Linked DNA regions of Homo sapiens: all the other regions are linked to region 1. Evidence: promoter capture Hi-C in 16 types of primary human blood cells and fetal thymus (Javierre and others, 2016). All regions are on one chromosome and are shown on one strand. The core of a region is centred on a gene start or on the middle of the fragment in contact, and the rest is flanking DNA. Distances in the headings are between cores, read along the strand shown.

What was found. The method cuts DNA at HindIII sites, captures the fragments that hold promoters and counts their contacts. A CHiCAGO score of 5 or more calls a contact.
Region 2: a contact is called between a fragment that was not itself captured here and the fragment with the promoter of BEAN1 in region 1, in 3 of 17 cell types (total B cells, total CD8 T cells and non-activated CD4 T cells). The highest score is 8.1, in total B cells.
Region 3: a fragment that was not itself captured here is called in contact with the fragment with the promoter of BEAN1 in region 1 in 13 of 17 cell types (total B cells, naive B cells, activated CD4 T cells and 10 more); the score reaches 16.3 in total B cells.
Region 4: a contact is called between a fragment that was not itself captured here and the fragment with the promoter of BEAN1 in region 1, in 4 of 17 cell types (total B cells, M0 macrophages, naive CD8 T cells and 1 more). The highest score is 7.3, in total B cells.
Region 5: a fragment that was not itself captured here is called in contact with the fragment with the promoter of BEAN1 in region 1 in 4 of 17 cell types (total B cells, non-activated CD4 T cells, naive B cells and 1 more); the score reaches 7.5 in total B cells.
Region 6: a fragment that was not itself captured here is called in contact with the fragment with the promoter of BEAN1 in region 1 in 2 of 17 cell types (total CD4 T cells and naive B cells); the score reaches 6.3 in total CD4 T cells.
Region 7: a fragment that was not itself captured here is called in contact with the fragment with the promoter of BEAN1 in region 1 in 10 of 17 cell types (total CD8 T cells, total B cells, neutrophils and 7 more); the score reaches 7.9 in total CD8 T cells.

What each region holds. Positions count from the first base shown.
Region 1 is chr16:66,426,045-66,428,667 of GRCh38, reverse strand. It overlaps BEAN1 (brain expressed associated with NEDD4 1), which reads right to left and starts at 1,373. Exons shown (of 5, transcript NM_001178020.3): 1 at 1,237-1,373. RefSeq lists an enhancer at 1-545. The HindIII fragment of the contact is 13,321 bases long and covers 1-2,623 here.
Region 2 is chr16:66,882,836-66,885,458 of GRCh38, reverse strand. It overlaps PDP2 (pyruvate dehydrogenase phosphatase catalytic subunit 2), which reads right to left. Exons shown (of 2, transcript NM_020786.4): 2 at 1-1,228. The coding sequence starts at 1,174. Among named protein-coding and RNA genes, the nearest start is that of PDP2, 3.6 kb to the right of the region's middle. The HindIII fragment of the contact is 5,190 bases long and covers 1-2,623 here.
Region 3 is chr16:66,853,094-66,855,716 of GRCh38, reverse strand. It overlaps CA7 (carbonic anhydrase 7), which reads right to left. Exons shown (of 7, transcript NM_005182.3): 7 at 1,570-2,341. The coding sequence ends at 2,219. It overlaps LOC124903699 (a long non-coding RNA gene), which reads left to right. Exons shown (of 4, transcript XR_007065088.1): 3 at 2,032-2,312. Among named protein-coding and RNA genes, the nearest start is that of CA7, 10 kb to the right of the region's middle. The HindIII fragment of the contact is 6,670 bases long and covers 1-2,623 here.
Region 4 is chr16:66,834,262-66,836,884 of GRCh38, reverse strand. No RefSeq gene overlaps it. Among named protein-coding and RNA genes, the nearest start is that of NAE1, 4.6 kb to the right of the region's middle. The HindIII fragment of the contact is 3,991 bases long and covers 1-2,623 here.
Region 5 is chr16:66,806,772-66,809,394 of GRCh38, reverse strand. NAE1 (NEDD8 activating enzyme E1 subunit 1) reads left to right here. Exons shown (of 20, transcript NM_003905.4): 16 at 320-406; 17 at 782-874. Among named protein-coding and RNA genes, the nearest start is that of TERB1, 6.5 kb to the right of the region's middle. The HindIII fragment of the contact is 1,521 bases long and covers 543-2,063 here.
Region 6 is chr16:66,784,726-66,787,348 of GRCh38, reverse strand. It overlaps TERB1 (telomere repeat binding bouquet formation protein 1), which reads left to right. Exons shown (of 19, transcript NM_001136505.2): 7 at 1,064-1,124; 8 at 1,220-1,335; 9 at 1,441-1,563. Among named protein-coding and RNA genes, the nearest start is that of TERB1, 16 kb to the left of the region's middle. The HindIII fragment of the contact is 9,811 bases long and covers 1-2,623 here.
Region 7 is chr16:66,767,045-66,769,667 of GRCh38, reverse strand. TERB1 (telomere repeat binding bouquet formation protein 1) reads left to right here. Exons shown (of 19, transcript NM_001136505.2): 15 at 1,500-1,564; 16 at 2,158-2,253. Among named protein-coding and RNA genes, the nearest start is that of DYNC1LI2-DT, 17 kb to the right of the region's middle. The HindIII fragment of the contact is 1,597 bases long and covers 485-2,081 here.

The DNA of each region.
Region 1 (2,623 bases), core at 124-2,623:
ATCATCTCATTTAATCCTCCCAACTCACCTTCCCCATGTTCCAGATGGGGAAACTAAGGCTCAGAGAGGTTTGTGTCTTGCTTAAGGTTGTACAGCCAGGAAGTCAGCCAAGCCCACCTTCTGGTTCCAAATCCCTTAAACATCCCGCTCACAACAGACTCCTGCTTACTTTCAGATGAGGAAACTGAGGCACAGGGTGGTGAAGTCTCTCGTTCCAGCAGAGCAGTTATGTTTGAGGAGTGAGTCCAGAGCGGCATGCTCTCGGCAGGGGCTCATCGGAAATCGTGGCTCAAGAGCAAGGATCCCTGAACCCCTGCCTCTCACACCAGTTACTTGCGCCCTCCCTTTCCCAGCCTGCGCCCCGCCACCCACGCCGGCACCCGCCCGAGATGGACAGGGCAGTCCCTGGTCCTCACCGCTCTCCAGCCTCCAGACCGCAGAGCCCGATAGGGAAGGAGGAAGGGCAGCGAGAGTCAGCCGGGTGTGGGGTGGGCCCTGCCCCTGGGGAGCGGCGGCGGTGCCACTCAGCGCTGCGCAGCCAGCCTGAGCTGCCTGCCGCCTCGCCTCGTACTCAGCCTCGGGTCCCTCTGACAGCGCAAGGGAAAGTCTGTCCCAAAGTGGGAGAAGGTGCGGAGGGCGCGCTCTCTCTCCGACGCTCGGTGCTGAGACAGAGGCACGGAGACAGGGGCATACCCCAGGCGACCTGCTCGTCGAAGGGTCAAACTTCCTAGCTCAAAGGGGTGCGGGTGGGTTCAAACTCCAAACTCCGTGAAGCCCCAGCCCCTTTCCTCTCCCACCCCGACCGAGAGTGCGCCCTAGTTTTCCCTTCTTGGTTGGGTTGTTCAGGGGTCCCCGAAACCGAGGGCAAGCTGCTGGGGAGGCTGTCTTGGGTTCCCCAAATGCGGTTGATGCTCGTCGGGGACTCGAGTCAGGCAGAAAACCTGGATACCTCCCCTTCCCCGAGGCCCGAGGGCGCGATCAGGGTCAGCCTCGGCTCGCGCAGATCCCAGTGGCCAGCCCGGGGTCGAGGGTCCGCGGGAGACCCGGGATCCCGCTCCGTTCCGAGCGCGCTGCGGTTCCGTTCCGGACCGCGCATCCGCCCGCCCCGCGCACCGAGGCTCCGCGCGGCGCGCCCCCGGGTGTGTCGTTCGCCGGTACCACCGCAGAGCGCGGGGGAATGGGGCCGGGACCCCCCGCCCGCCCCTCCCCCGCGCCGCCCAGCCCCACGCCCCTTACTCGGCTTGGCTGCAGCGCTCCGCTCCGTGCGCCGCAGTGCCGGCTCCAGCTTCGGCTCCAGCTCCGGTTCCCGCCCCGGCTCCGGCTCCCAGTCCGGTTCCCGCTCGGAGGCCACTGCGCTCGGGCTCGGGCGTCGCGGGGGGCGCGCCGCTACGCTTCGGCCTGCTGGGCGCGCAGGGGCGGGGCGGGGCGGGCCAGGCGGGGCCAGGCGAGCCGGGCCGACCAGCCGCCCGCGATCCCGGGCCGAGGCAGCGGCGGCGGCGGCTTCCCAGGCCCCGGCCCTGGCCCTGGCCCTGCCCTGCCGCAGCCCCGCCCGGCCGCCCGTCGTCCCCGCGCCGCCGCCCACGCCACCGTCACCGGCCCCGGCCCCCCTCGGCGGCGGCGCGGCTCCCGGGCCTCAGCACCGCGGCGCCGCGGCCCGGGTCACTCCGAGATGCGGGGCGGGGGGCGCGGGTGCGGGGGAGGGCCGAGCCGCGCCCCTTTGCGCACAGCCAGCCCGACACCCACACAGCAGCAGGCGGGGCAGGGCGGCGAGGAGGCCGGGAAATGCGGGAGGCCGACGCTCCAGTCAGACGTGTGAAGAGGACACACAGGCGTGTGTAGGGAATGACACACGGACGCGAGCGGGGAGCCACTGACACGTGCAGAGAAGGGTAGACAAACGAGGTGTCAGGGAAGGACAGCCAGACAGGTTGGACCGAGGCTAGGCTGGGCATTTGAGCAGGGGACCCCTGTCGCGGGCAAAGAGCAAAGTGCGGGATGGAGAGGGGGACCCAGCGTGGCTGGGCCGCTGGCAGGGGCAGGCGAGCCTGGCAGGGCTTCCCGCTCGCGGTTGCTGGCAGGTGAGTTTTGGGATTCCAGCTAGGCCTGGCCCAAACCTTCCTTCGGAGCCACCAGCAGGCCTGTTTCCTTCACCCCGTCACCCTCCCTGTGCCCCCGTTCCCCGCTGCCCAAACGTCAGGGCATAGGGCTCAGCCCTGGCAGGTGGAAGCCGGCCCCGAGGGGATGCCTGGCTCAGGCCGGGGTTCCAGGCTTCCAGGACCTGCTCTGTCCCCACCCTGCTTTGGGGCCTTGGACGAATCCCAGCCCATCTCTCAGGCCTCCCTGTCCTCATTAGGATATTGCTCCCAATGATTGCACCCCTACTGTGTTGGGGTGCTCGCCAGCGTGGAGGAGTTATTTATTTAACCTCCGCCACTTGCCTGGGAGCGCCAGGAGGGCAGCGTCTGGGTAGGGCTGCAGGGGTCTGCACAGAGTGGGCACTCAGTGAATTTGCTGCAGGAATTGATGAAATGTGTTGTTGCTAACACTCTCTGAACCACTACTGTTGATGAGGAAACTGGGGCTTAGGAGGCAAGGGGAGTCAAAAGCTGGGTTCGTTTCAAAA
Region 2 (2,623 bases), core at 68-2,567, 460 kb before region 1:
CAGCAGTCAGGTAGGGTGGAGTGTAGTAGTGTGGGGGTGTGAACTGGTAAATGTTGAGGGCCTCGGTATTGAAGCCCCTCTCCAGAATGCTGCGCTGCAACTCTTTACTCCACTTCAGCTGAACATCCCCAAAGGCCCTGCAGGGGATGAGGACGCCCAGTAGCCTGTCCTCCATGATGATCGTCCTGTCCTCTGACTCAGGGTGCTCCCTCTTTAGCCGGGACAGCTCGGCCTGGTTCCAGGCATTGTGGTCACGTGTAAGGGGCAGACAAGACCACATGCCATTGTCCTCTTGGACACCAAGGATGGCTCGGCAGTCACCAGCATTTGCCACGTGCAAGTGAATTCCATCAACATGGGCCATGCAAGCTGTTGCCCCAGAGAAAGCAACCTGGAGTGACAGGTTCCTTGTCACCTCATCTTCCAGGGGGGCCTGGATTTCCAGCGAGATGTCAGAATCCAGTCTCTGGAAGGAGTACATTAATGCTTCTTCAATGCTTAGTCCCATTTCCATGTGCAAATCAAGCAGTTCCTGCCAATAGACACGGAGGTGGTCAAGATGCACAGATGTGACATCCTTGTAGATACTGTCCCCTGGGTGCTTGAGCCAATGCAGGATGGGCAGCAAGGGTTTCATGCTTTCCATAGCTCCCTCCATGTGCTCCAGGGTCTGGTGGGACATCAGGGACACTGCCACATAGTAGAAGAGCCTCTCGCTCACTGCTTGGGCACATGCATGACCACCATGTCCATCGAAGATGCCAAACATCAGTCCATTGGTTTGCAGGCAGGAGGCTACACCTCGCCGGTCCTCCACTGGGGAATTGGCAGCCAGCTGGTTGCTCTCAAACCGCAACACTGAATTTGGGACTCTGCTTTCAAGGTCAAGAATCTTGTGGGTTGTCTCGCCAGCTCGAAGCACTTCATTTATCTGCTCAGGGCTGAGTTGCAAGTGAAAATCATCTTCCTCTGTTGATGTGTGTCTGTAGGCTTTGCACAGAGTAAAGCCACCACATGGGGAACTGTTTAGGGTGGGTGGCACCCGGGAAAAGAGCCTCCATTTTAATTTATTCCTATTTGAGACATACCTGGAGTATAAGCGTCTACCCCCTTGCAATGTGGCAATGCTGTTCCTTGTAGAATTTAAGATCCAGTAGGACACAGTACTTGACATTCTGAAACTATACCAGCAAATGTGTTCCTTCAGCAAAAAAGGATATTTTTAAACCTAAAAATTAAAAAGTTGAAGTTTCAAATTTAATTTCTTTTTTTTTTTTTTTTTTTTGAGACGTAGTCTCGCTCTGCCGCCCAGGCTGGAGTGCAGTGGTGTGATCTCTGCTCACTGCAAGCTCCGCCTCCCAGGTTCATGCCATTCTCCTACCTCAGACTCTGGAGTAGCTGGGACTACAGGCGCCCGCCACCACACCTGGCCAATTTTTTGTATGTTTAGTAGAGACAGGGTTTCACCATGTTAGCCAGGATGGTCTCGATCTCCTGACCTTGTGATCCACCTGCCTCGGCCTCCCAAAGTGCTGGGATTACAGGCGTGAGCCAAAGCACCCAGCCACAAATTTAATTTCTTAAAAATACTGACTTCTGAAAACATTTGCTAATATCCTGAACAAAAATGACTTAGAATAAACTATTTAAAATACACTAAACTCACTCTCACCAGCAGACTATAAGTGTTCATTTAAATATCTGCTTCGGGGGCCAGGCCTGGTGGCTCATGCCTGTAATCCTAGCACTTTGGGAGGCCAAGGTGGGTGGATAGCTTGAGCCCAGGAGTTCGAGACTAGCCTGGGCAACATGGTGAAACCCTGTCTCTCCAAAAAAATAAAAAAAATAAAAAAATTGCCAGGCATGGTGGTGTGTATCTATAGTCACAGCTACTTGGGAGGCTGAGGTAGGAGAATCATCTGAGCCTGGTAAGTTGAGGCTGCAGAAAGCAGTGATTGTGCCACTGCAGTCTAGCCTGGGCCTCACTAGAGAGGGAGTGAGACCCTGTCTCAAAGAAAACAAAAACAGGCCTGACGCGGTGGCTCACGCCTGTAATCCCAGCACTTTGGGAGGCCGAGGTGGGCTGATCACGAGTTCAGGAGATCGAGACCATCCTGGCTAACACAGTGAAACCCCGTCTCTACTAAAAATACAAAAATTTAGCTGGGTGCAGTGATGGGCGCCTGTAGTCCCAGCTACTCAGGAGGCTGAGGCAGGAGAATGGCGTGAACCCAGGAGGCAGAGTTTGCAGTGAGCCAAGATTGCACCACTGCACTCCAGCCTGGGCGAGAGCGAAACTCCGTCTCAAAAATAAATAAATAAATAAATAATCTGCTTCGGGCATAGTGGCTCATACCTGTAACCACTCCAAAGGCTGAGGCGGGAGGATCACTTGAGCCTAGGAGTTCCAAGACCAGCCTGGGCAACATAAGGAGACCTGGTTTCTACAAAAAATTTTTTTACAAATTAGTTGGGCATGGTGGCGCACACCTATAGCCCCATTCACTTGTAAGGCTGAGGTGAGAGGATTGCTTAAGCCCTGGAGGTCAAGACTGCAATGAGCTGTGCTCCTGCCACTGCACTCCAGCCTGGGCAACAGAGCAAGACCCTGTCTCAAAAACTA
Region 3 (2,623 bases), core at 79-2,578, 430 kb before region 1:
GTCTGTCTCCGGCTCCTGCCGCTGTCTCATCTGGGTCACAATCATCACTTGGTCTCTAAGCCCAACTGTGAACTTGCCCTTGGGCACTTTTTTGGACTTGGACTAGGGACTAGGGTGAGGATGCACATTTAAAAAAAAGCACTCTAGGGCCAGGCACGGTGGCTCACACCTGTAATCCCAGCACTTTAGGAGGCCCAGGTGGGTGGATTACTTGGGGTCAGGAATTCGAGACCAGCTTGACCAACATGGTGAAACCCCATCTCTACTAAAAATACAAAAATTGGCCGGGCATGGTGGTGCGCACCTGTAATCCCAGCTACTCGGGAGGCTGAGGCAGGAGAATTGCTTGAACCTGGGAGGCGGAGGTTGCAGTGAGCTGAGATCATGCCACTCACTTCAGCCTGGGCTACAGAGCAAGACTCCGTCTCAAAAATAAATAAATAAATAAATAAATAAATAAATAAATAAATAAATAAGTAAAATTAAATAAAAATAAAAATAAAACCCCCTCTTGGGGTTGTGCGTGTGCAGGGCCTGGGCCTGAAGGCACATGCCCCCTTAGATTTTCCTTCCAGGACCCCACAATGCTGCGTGTCCAATGTGGCCAGCTCCCTGTAGGGTTCCCAGAGCAAGTGAAGGCTCCACTTTCTGCTCAGGGATATGCCCTGGTCTCCTCTCTATCCTGAACAGCCAAACACTGTCTTTTGGGCACCACCTCCTAAATCTCTCTCATCCAGCCCTCTGTCTCCCACCTCCCTCCACCCTGTCCCCTCCCGCCTGGACACAGGCCACCCCTTGCTCCCTGCCACCATTCCTGCCTGCCCATCCGCATTCCTCAGGGATGTTCCCCATTTGCAGGCCTGGCCCTGCCCCTCCTCTACTATAAGCCCTTGGTAGCTCCCCGTCAGCCTGGGGAGGGGGTCCCAGGTTTCCCCCAGGGCTCTAGCCCCTTTGAGCCTTTTGAGCCCCACAACCACACTGGGCTCTCTCTCACCTCTGAGCCTGCACACTTGCCCTTCCCTTGGCCTCAAACATGCTGTTCCCTTCTATCTGATTTGGAATACTGGTTGGAATTTCATTTCTTCCTTTCTTTCTGTTTGAGAGGGCCTCGCTCTGTCGCCCAGCCTGGGGTACAGTGGTGCGACCTCAGCTCACTGCAACCTCTGCCTCCTGGGTTCAAGCGATTCTCCTGCCTCAGGCTCCTGAGCAGCTGGGATTACAGGTGCACACCACTATCACCCAGCTAATTTTTGTAATTTTAGTAGAGACGGGGTTTCAGCAGTTGGCCAGGCTGCTCTCGAACTCCTGAGCTCAAGTGATCCACCTGCTTTGGCCTCCCAAAGTGCTGGGACTGTAAGCGTGAGCCACCACGCCTGACCAGAATTGCATTTCTTTGCTGAGTGACATGGTCTTCCCCTCTCATCTGCTCCCATAGCCCCTTCCCTGCCCTTTGTGTAACCCTCACCTGCTCACCACTCATATCCCTCCCAACACATAGTGCTTAACTCACCACCATTGCTCCCCAAAGCCTAGGACGGTACTAGAGACAGCACAAGCACTCAATTGGTATTTGTTGCATGGATACATTAATTTATTAATTCAACAGGGATGGACTGTCATGTAGGTGGCTTTGGTGACTGGGTGGGGACAAGGGGAGATACTGTATAAGCTATAGCCAGGGCCTGCCCGTGGCAGCAGGTGGCTGGAGGGAGAAGGCCACGTCACCTCCAGCATGCTGGGTGCTGATTTTAATGGCCTGGCAGTGAGGTGCGTGCATGGCAGAGCCTGCAGAAGAGGTAATGCCGAGAGGGCAGCTCTGCCCACCTCTAATTATTGCTTGAGTCTCTCTGGTAGTGTCAGCTGCCCGCCCCAGGGAGCTCAGTCTCCTCCATCACAGTGTGCGCTCGGGGTGGGGCTGCTGCCACTGCCAGTGGGGAAGACCAGAGGAGGTTCCCAGGGTCTTTGGGTCTTGGAGAGCAGAGGCAGCCCCAGGCTTGGACCCTGCTTAGCTCCTGTCCTTCCTGTCCCCAGGGCAGCTGAAGGGTGCCCCAGACTCAAGGGTCCCATCCAGAAGCCTCCAGGGTGACCAAGGAGCAAACTGGCTGAAGGAGGGTCCCCAGCACCCCCCAGGGAGGAAGCCTCAGATGGTTTGGTGTCTGCTGACATGGAAGCCCTTGAGAAGATGGTGCCCTAGTGGCCGGCTAGGCAGATGGGCAGCTCAGGCCCGGAAGGAGGCCTTTACCACGCGGCCCTTCAGTGGCTGTGGTGGCCGGAAGTTGTTCACCATGTGGATCCTCTCATCGTCCTCCGAGGTAAAAAGCAGGCTCCGGAACTTCCCCATCTTGAGGAAGCAGAAGGAATGCTCAGGGCAGATTGGGGGTGCTGTGGTCCTCTATGACCCCAGATGCATCATCTGGCATACCTGCCCAGCCAGCTCTACCCCTCCCTCCTCCTTCCCTTAGGGTCTGTCCCTACTCTTCCCCACTCATTTTTCTCTGCAGGACCCTCATTTATTTACTCACTAAAGGGTCTGGGCTCTGCTTTACCTAGTTCTAGTTCCAAGCCCATCTAGCTAAGACTTATCAGCAAATGTAGCATTCAGATTCCAACACAGTAGCGGGGG
Region 4 (2,623 bases), core at 60-2,559, 410 kb before region 1:
ATTCACACACTGCTGTGATTTTGTTATTTCTAGTTTTCAGTGTGGCAAATATCACTGCAGTGAACATCCTTACTTGCACATCTTTAGTATTTTTTTTTGAGACCCAGTATGATTTTTTTTTTAAGAGATGGGGTCGGCCGGGCGCGGTGGCTCACGCCTGTAATCCCAGCACTTTGGGAGGCTGTGGCGGGTGGATCTCAAGGTCAGGAGATTGAGACCATCCTGGCTAACACGGTGAAACCCCGTCTCTACTAAAAATACAAAAAAAATTAGCCAGGCGTGGTGGCGGGTACCTGTAGTCCCAGCTACTCAGGAGGCTGAGGCAGGAGAATGGCATGAACCGGGAGGTGGAGGTCGCAGTGAGCCAAGATCGTGCAACTGCACTCCAACCTGGGCAACAGAGCGAAACTCCGTCTCAAAAAAAAAAAAAAAAACACACAGTGGGGTCTCACTGTGTTGCTCAGGCTGGTCTGTCTCAAATTCCTGGCCTCGAGCAATACTTCCACCTCAGTCTCCCAAAGGACTGGGATTACAGGCATGAACCAATGTACCTGGCCTCCTTACTTATACATCTTATATGTGTCTGATGATTTCCTTGGAATAAATTGATAGAGGTAGAATTACCAAATCAAATGATATATACATTGCTAGGAACATATTTTAAAATGTACAAAGTATGATGGCAATAGTTTCAGAAATTTATTCTTTAATTCAATAAACATTTATTGAAGATTTATTAGATGTCAACTGCTGGGCCAGGCACAGGTGATACAACTGTGAACATTATAGACTTATAGCTGCCTCAAGGAGCTTATGGGGTTGGGGAGAGAGGCAAGAGATCAGCCAATGAGGACCAGGGTGAGAAGGGATAGGATGTGCAAGGACAGGCAGAGAGGGCTAGTGGCCTGGGAGGATGTCCTGGGTTATGACTTCTTCCTGGCTGGTCTCCCACAGACTATAATCTCTGTAAGCACAGAGCTAGCCCCAAACTTCCTGACAGCCCAAAGGTCCAGTCTGCCCTCGTTGAGATCAACTGGACTGGATAAAATAACAGATCTGCACTGGGGTCTGGTCAGATCTGTTGGGGGTATTTATTTCTTTTTGTTTGAGACAAGGTCTCACTCTGTCACCCAGACTAGAGTACAGTGGTGCAGTCATAGCTCACTGCAGCCTCCAACTCCTGGGCTCAAGTGATCCTCCCACCAAGTAGCTGGGACTACAGGTATGCCACTATGCCTGGCTAATTTTGTTTGTTTGTTTGTTTGAGATGGAGTTTCGCTCTTTCACCCATGCTGGAGTGCAGTGGCGCAATCTCGGCTCACTGCAACCTCTGCCTTCCGGTTTCAAGCGTTTCTCCTGCCTCAGCCTCCTGAGTAGCTGGGATTATAGGCGCCCACGACCACGCCAGGCAAATTTTTATATTTTTAATAGAGACAAGGTTTCACCATATTGGCCAGGCTGGTCTTGAACTCCTGACCTCATGATCTGCTCACCTCGGCCTCCCAAAGTGCTTGGATTATAGGTGTGAGCCACAGCACCCGGCCACATTCTTTAGTTTTTGTAGAGACGGGGTCTTGTTATGTTGCCCAGGCTGGTCTCTAACTCCTGGCCTCAAGTGATCCTCCTGCCTTGGCCTCCCAAAATACTGCAGGTGTGGGACTACAGGTGTGATTACAGGTGTGAGCCACCGCACCAGACTGGGGTATTTGTTTCTAACCCCTGCACCACCTCTTAATCTTTGTTACTTCACTCTTCTCCCCAAACATCTGCCCTCTGTCTGTAAAACGGGGTTAGCAGCAATATCTGTTGCATTGGGTGGTTGTGAGCTCACGAGGTGATGCATGTCAGGGGCCTGCCTGGCATCATAGTAAGTGCTCAGAAAGCCAGGGTAGGATCAAGCATGTATCAGAATCACCTGGATGATTTGTTAAAACAGTTTCCTGGGCCTCACTCTACAGTTTCTGATTCAGCAAGTATGGATAAGGTCCAAGAATTTGTGTTTCTTTTTTTTTCAGAGACAAGGTTTCGCCATGTCACCCAGCCTGGTTTCGAGCTCCTGGGCTCAAGCAATCCTCCTGCCTTAGCCTCCTAAGTGTTGGGATTACCGGAGTGAACCACCTTACCTGGCTTTCTTTTTTTTTTTTTAATACTTAATTTTTTTTAAGAGAGGAATGTCTCACTCTGTTGCCCAGGTTGGAGTGCAGTGGCGAGATCATAGCTCACTGCAACCACAAACTCCTGGGCTCAAGTGATCCTCCCACCTTAGCCTTCCAGGTAGCTAGTACTACAGGCATACACCACCATGCCTGGCTAATTTTTAATTTTTTTTTTTCTTTTTGTAGAGACAGGGTCTTGCTATGTTGCTCAGGCTAGTCTCAAACTCCTGGCCTCAAGGAATCCTCCTGCCTTGGCCTCCCAAAGTGCTGGAATTACAGTCATGAACCACTGTACCCAGCCAAGAATTTGCCTTTCTTTTTTTTTTTTTTTTTTTTTTTGAGACGGAGTCTCACTCTGTCGCCCAGGCTGGAGTGCAGTGGCGGGATCTCGGCTCACTGCAAGCTCCACCTTCCTGGTTCACGCCATTCTCCTGCCTCAGCCTCCCGAGTAGCTGGGACTAGAGGCG
Region 5 (2,623 bases), core at 54-2,553, 380 kb before region 1:
TTTATACAGATGTCACATTTAATCTGTAGAACAATTCTCAAAGGTAAACAGTATCATCCCCATTTTACACTTGAAAACTGAGGTTCAGAGAGGCCATCACCTTACTTGCTTCTGAACTGGTTGTAGTGCCAGGGATATAAATTTAAGGTGATTCATGTTCTAGTGCTTTCTCTGCTATTAGAACCAAGGAGAAAACATTTCTTCACATTCTCATGTCTGAGAAGGGTATACACATAATTCTCTGTTCTTAAAGTCACCTGTGATTCATAATATTCACCAGTCACAGTCATTACTTCCAGAATATCTTTCCTCTGTTCAGGCAGCAATTCTGCATTTCTTCGAGTGGTAAGATGTCGATCCTTAGCTGAAGAATATGGTTTGGATACAATTAACAAGGATGAAATTAGTAAGTATAATAGCCTTCTGATTCTGGGTTAATTTTAATTAATTTAAAAGATATAAATATTTTGTGTATAATAGTGTTGAGTATATGGTGATGATATTAAAGATAACGTAAACATATTCTAATTTTATTCTAAGCTTATCTAGGTAATTATAATTTATATATTATATGAAACTTAATGTATGCATAAAGTCATATTTAGGTCACTGAGTCCATTGTGTGATATGTATGAGTTAAAGTCAGTATGTTACTACTTCAGTAGAGATTGTGTGACTCCAGTTAATAGTCCTGAAACTCAAGTATATAGTAAATTCAGCCCTTCATTGTTTGTTACATTGCAAATTAACCAAATTAAACTGAAATTTTTTTTCCTTTCAGTTTCTAGCATGGACAATCCAGATAATGAAATAGTGTTGTACTTAATGTTACGGGCTGTTGATAGATTTCATAAACAACAGGGTAGATATCCAGGTAAGAATAGCAATTGAATTACCAGATATAATAAGATCTTCAATAAAACATTTAAATTGAAAGTGTTCTCAGGGTATTTATAATAGTGTTGCTTGAATTTCACATTGTAAACAGATTACACCCCAAACGTTCCCCAGTGAAGAACCACCTTTTGTTTTTTAAGTTTAACTATTTGCAAAATAGTGTTCGATTCTAAACTATTACAGGGGGATGTTGGTTGAATATGTATAGAAGAAAACTTTTTTCTGTCATTTTCCATAGTTTGTTACTAAGACTCACACTGAGTTTAATTTAGTGGAATAGGAAAGCCACAAGAAATATGCTGGCCAGGCATAGTACGGTGGCTCACGTCTGTAATGCCAGCACTTTGGGAGACTGATTCAGGCAGATTGCTTGAGCCCAGGAGTTGGAGACCAGCGTGGGCAACATGGTGGAACCCCATCTCTACTGAAGATACAAAAAATTAGCCAGACATGGTGGTGTGCACTTGTAGACTCAGCTACTCGGGAGGATCACCTGAGCCTGGGAAGTTGGGGCTACAGTGAGTTGTGATTGTGCCACTAAACTCCAGCCTGGGTGACTGTGGTGAGACTGTCTCAAAAAAAAAAAAAAGTATGCTACTAATTTCTGAACTCAATAACTCTGAAGATGTAGGAATTTCTTTGTTTAGTTATCTACTTTTTATCTTCAGCAAATGTAGTCATTGGAGAATTGGCATAATCTCAAAGATCTGAGGTTGCTCAGAATATTTTTCTTTGGGATGATAATTTTAATTGTGCAGGATTATTGCATAGCAACACATTCTAGGGGTATCATAAAACCTGCTGCTCCATCTGATACAGTGTGTCTCCAGAGTTTATAGTCTTTTTTTTTTTTCTTTTGAGACGGAGTCTCGCTCTGTCGCCCAGGCTGGAGTGCAGTGGCGTGATCTCAGCTCACTGCAACCTCCGCCTCCTGGGTTTAAGCAGTTTTCCTGCCTCAGCCTCCCGAGTAGCTGGGACTATAGGCGCCCGCCACCTCGCCCAGCTAATTTTTGTATTTTTAGTAGAAACAGGGTTTCTCCGTGTTGGCCAGGCTGGTCTCGAACTCCTGACCTCAAGTGATCCTCCTGTGTTGGCCTCCCAAAGTGCAGGGATTACACGCATGAGCCACTGCGCTGCCCAGAGTTTATAGTCCTAACAAGCAAGCTTACTAGAAGAAAAAAAAAGAATAAACACCAAATATGTATTGCTTTATTTGTATTATTTGATTAGTATTTATTTCAGTTATCTGTTGCATAACAAACCACTTCAAAACTTAGTGGTTTAAAACAATAAATAGTGTCGTGATTTTGTGGGTTGCCTGGTCTCAGGCAGTTCTCCTTGGGGAGGCATGCAGTTGCTTGAGCCTGGGGGTGGAGTCATTCTGAAGGCTTGACTGACTGAGTTAGACATGCAAGAAGACATTTTTACTCATGTAACTAGCACCTTAGTCAGAACAGTGGGAATAGCTGGCGGCTGGTCAGGTATCTCTTCACGTGGCTAGCTTGGACTTCCTTTTGGCATGTCAGTTGGCTTCTGCAGTTAACATTCCAAAAAACCCAAGTGGAAGGTACAGGGCTTTTTATGACCTAGCTTTGGAAGTCATACAGCATCACTTATGAGCTAAGTAACTTAATCTCTCTGTGCTTTAGTTTTCTCTTCTATAAATGGAGATAACTATACATACTTCATAGGACTGTTTTGAGGATTCAATCAATTAATATAGATA
Region 6 (2,623 bases), core at 63-2,562, 360 kb before region 1:
GAAACCAGCCTAGGTAACATACTGAGACCTTGTCTCTCTACAAAGAAATAAAAAAAAAAAAAAAAGAAAAAGAAAAAGAAAAATTAACTGGGTGTGGTGGCACACACCTGTACTACCAGCTACTTGGGAGGCTGAGGTGGGAGAATTGAGTGAGCTCTGGAGGTTGAGGCTGCAATGAGCTGTGATCAAGCCACTGTACTCCAGCCTGAGTGACAGAGCGAGACTCTGCCTCAAAAAAAAGAAATGCTTCTAGGTAGGCACAGCAGGTCACATCTGTAACCCCAGCACTTGGGGAGGCCAAGGCTGTGTAACCCCTTCCCCATGTCACCCAGGTCCCAGCACGACCATATTCAGTACCAGCAGACTCTCTCATGCCACCCTTCCTGCTAGAGGGGAAATGTGGGCATCAATAGAGGGGGAAGTCTGGGTGGTTGTAGGGCTCAAGGCCCAAACCCCCAGGGTGTTGGGTGGGGGTAGGGCAGCCTCAGGGAAGCGAGGCATCAGGTTGTATCCTTTGAAGGGGAGAAGTCAAGCCTCACCTTCTTCTGCTAGCAGTGGCTGGTCTCTCACCCTCTAGTCCTCTGCTATTATTGTTTCCATGGGGAGGATCACAGACCCAGGCACAATGGTAGTCTGAGCAGGCTCAGGTAATTCAGCTAAGCCTCTTGCCAGAGAGGCCTGAGGAGGCGCCTTCTTGCCAGGCGTGCACTTAAAAAAAATGTTTCTAGATTTTGTTTTATTTTGGAAAAACTAGAAAAGGTTGAATTTATTTATTTTTCCATTTTGGAACTTATCTTGATACTGCAACACAGAACCATGATGCAAAGTAAGAGTTTTGTAATTTTTAGAGGAAATTTGAATACAATTAGTCTCTAAGCAGTAGTGACATATTTTTCATAATAATCTTGATTGCAGATTTTTATCCACCGTAATTCTATGTTATACTTTGTAATACTTTAAAGTTGTTTAAAAGTTATTTATTAAAATAAAACTTAACTGTTCTTCATTTCTGCAAGACTATTTGTAAATAAAACTCATATTTTTATATGGCTATTTTTTTAAGGGACCGGACAAACACTTGTGAGAGAAACAGGTTGTATTACAGTTCTGTCACGGTTATTCAGGTAAACAAATACAAATTTCTTTTTGTTAATTATTCATTACTTAGGACCTTAACACATTTGTATTAATTTACTTTCTTTTCTTTTTAACCTAATAGGACAGTTATTTCAAAACATGAGTTGGATTTGTCAGATAAAAATGTTTTCCAGAGTTATCAGTTGTGGTCTTCAGTGTGTAGTACTCTGTGTGTCTGTGTCAACAATCCTCAAAATGGTAATTATCTGTCATGTTTAAATATAAAAATAAAGATAAAAACAAATGAAAACTGATATTTTCCAATTGTCATATTAAATCATGATTGACTTTGTCTTCTTTCAGATGAGAATCAAATGTTTTGCTGTTCCCTTTTTCCACATGCTAATGAATGGCTAAAAAATTGCACGACACCTGAGATAATTCGCCCTATTTGCTCATTTATTGGACTCACTCTTGCAAATAACAGTAAGTGTTCGTTATTTTCTAGGTCATAGTTGAAGAAACATATTTCAAAGCATAATAAAAACGATTGAATTTATTATTGAATCAATTGAATTCTTGTAATTTGGGTTATTTTGGATGTATTTAGACTCTTAAAGATAAGAAAATCTTAAAAGTAGATATTTTTAGAAGGATATTGGGAAGATGGTGGTAGCAGCATCATTTTTTTAATCTCCCCAGATACTCTCATAAAACGGAGAAACCAGATAGCAAGACTAAAAACCCATAGAGTGTGTTCTCTGATCACAAGGTAATTAAATTAGAAATGAATAAAAACAAAACATCTAGAAAAGCCCCAAATATCTGGTAATTAAACAACTTAGTACTAAAATCTGTGAGTCAATGCATAAATCATAAGGAAAATTATAAAATGTTTCTAACTGAATGATAATGAAAATACAACATTAGGCCAGGCATGGTGGCTCACGCCTATAATCCCAGCACTTTGGAAGACTGAGGCAGGCGGATCACTTGAGGTCAGGAGTTCAAGACCAGCCTGACCAACATGGTAAAACCCCATCTCTACTAAAAATACAGAAATTAGCTGGGCATGTTGGCAACAATTAGCTGGGCATGGTGGCAGACACCTATAATCCGAGCTACTTGGGAGGCTGAGGCAGGAGAATCGCGTGAGCCCAGGAGACGGAAGTTGCAGTGAGCCAAGATCACACCATTGCACTCCATCCTGGGCAACAGAAAGAGACTGTCTCAAAAAAAAAAAAAAAAAAGCCAGACGCAGTGGGTCACACCTGTAATCCCAGCACTTTGGGAGGCTGAGGCAGGTGGATCGCTTGAGGTCAGGAGTTTGAGACCAGCCTGACCAACATGTGAAACCTTGTCTCTACTGAAAATACAAAAATTAGCCGGGCACCTGTAATCCTAGCTACTCAGGAGGCGGAGGCAGGAGAATCTCTTGAACCTGCAGAGGCTGAGATCACACCACTGCACTCCAGCCTGGGTGACAGAATGAGACTCCGTTTCAAAAAAAAAAAAAAAAAAAATTAAAAATTAAAAGAAATCTGTG
Region 7 (2,623 bases), core at 34-2,533, 340 kb before region 1:
ACTCAGAAAATAAAACCTAAACGGAAACCCTTTACTTGAAGTAACAATGCGTGCATTGATAATCAGCAGTATAGCAAAAACTGTTTTTAAATTTAATGTGATAAAGGGAATAGGATGTGAAGAAAATTTGGTTTGGGTTTGCCCTTTTGTTTGTTCCCTGCACTTTGTCTCTAGAACATAGTCTTTTTCCCTTGCAGTTAGTTTGTGGGGCTAGACCTGGGATTGTAGCTTTTCTTAAACCCTTTATTGGGTTGTGCTCTTCTGTTGGTTACTGTACTTGGGAAAAATGAAGAGGATGCTGCTACATTTCGGGCAGGTTGAAGGGTAAACTAAGTACCAGGAAGAAGGGTTACACCAATACCACCCCTTTTATCTGTTTCAAGACCATTCTTGATGTTAATTTTAACTTGATTGCTCAGGTATGGGAATTGGGAAGCAGTAAGATATGGTCCTGGGCCAGCCTTCTTGACCTCCATCCCAAGCTTTCCACCCATACCCTTCTTTCTCCTATAGAGTTAGCCATATTTCTTTTTCTTTTTTCTTTTTCTTTTTCTTTTTTTTTTTGAGAAAGTTTCGCTCTTGTTGCCCAGGCTGGAGTGCAATGGCATGATCTCGGCTCACCGCAACCTCCACTTCCCGGGTTCAAGTGATTCTCCTACCTCAGCCTCCCGAGTAGCTGGGATTACACGCATGTGCCACCACGCCCGGCTAATTTTTTGTATTTTTAGTAGAGATGGAGTTTCTCCATGTTGGTCAGGCTGGCCTTGAACTCGCGACCTCAGGTGATCTGCCCGCCTCAGCCTCCTAAAATGCTGGGATTACAGGCGTGAACCACCGCACCCGGCTAGGGTTAGCCATATTTCTACCTCAGCCAACTTATTAATATTTTCATCTCTTTGAAATGCTTTTTTTCTCCTATGTAGTAGCTCCTACAAATATACGTACATGGACAGATAGCTATAACTATAAAGCTACTGCTATGCCTGCTATCTGATCTACAGTTCTTGCCTTTTTCTGTACTGCCTGTTAATCATTGTGACAGTATAATCAAAACTTGTATTTATTCATCAAGGACTACAGGGTTCAAACATACAAATGTTTTGGGGGTTAGGAAGGATTTTTAAATTCAGGTCTTTAAATGATTGTTGTTAGCACTTTGCCATCCTGCACCCATGTTCATTTTTGCTCCCACTGATTTTGTTCTCTCCTTTTTGCCTTCATCTCTCCTACTTCCTTCTTTTTATAATCTTTTTCTTCCATGTTTCTTCTGGCATCAATACTATTGCCCTCTGGAGTCTTGTTTGACTCGAGCTCTAGAAACACGGCTGTAATTGTTGCAGGCCCTACGTTGGCAGAATTTGGTAGATTGTGGTAGATCGTGATTCCAGGTTGCTTTTGCCCACCAAACACCGAAAATCACAACACTGCTTACAGAAACATTGGTCCGCACACCAAACAGTATGTTTACTTTTAGTAATCTGGTGTCTATTTTCTTTTAGTGACCATGTTTTTAAACACCCAGTTCACATTGCCAAAAATATAAAGCAGCAGTTACCAGTAACAGGTATGATTAAAAATGTTTCTTTGGTTTTTTAATAAAACAGATATTTAGGTAACCAATATAGCTAAAAATGCACATTGACTGGGTGCGGTGGCTCACGCCTGTAATCCCAGCACTTTGGGAGGCCTAGGTGGGCAGATCAGCTGAGGTCAGGAGTTCAAGACCAGTCTGGCCAACATGGTGAAACCCTGTCTCTACTAAAAATACAAAAATTAGCCAGGTGCGGTGGTGGGCACCTGTAATCCCAGCTACTCTGGAGGCTGACGCAGGAGAACTGCTTCAACCCAGGAGGCGGAGGTTGCAGTGAGCCGAGATCATGCCACTGCACTCCAGCCTGGACGACAGAGTGAGACTCCATCTCAAAAAAAAAAAAAGTCCATTGCTATATTGGCCCTCTAAAGCATAAGCCACACCTTTGACTCTTTCTGTTGTAAATGCCTTCCATTAAGATCCAGAATCTTTCTGTTTATTCACCAGCATGACTGGAGGCATAGTACTAGGCTAAGGTTTATGAAAAGCTTGATATTTAATAAATCCTGAAAATATCTGATTCTTTTCATTAATCCAAAAATCCTTCATTTTGCAATTTTTTTCAGATCCATTTACATTATGTTCAGATATAATAAATAAAGAAGTAGTCAGTTTTCTAGCAACTCCCAGTTGTTCCGAAATGTTGACGTATAGGTGCTCAGGTAAGTATTTTTTTAATTGCAGTTGTTTCACAGTCAAAGCCTTTTATGATATTAACTAGAATTTTTTTTTTTTTTTGATACAGAGTCTTACTCTGTCACCCAGGCTGGAGTGCAGTGGCGCGATCTTGGCTCACTGCACTCTCCACCTCCCAGGTTCAAGTAATTCTTGTGCCTCAGCCTCCCAAGTAGCTGGGATTACAGGTGCCCACTACCACACCTGGCTAATTTTTTTTTTTTTTTTGTATTTTTTCGTAGAGCAGGTTTTACCATGTTGGCCAAACTGATCTTGAACTCCTGACCTCAAATGATCTGCCTGCCTCAGCCTCTCAAAGTGCTGGTGTTACAGACATGAGCCACCACGCTTATTGTA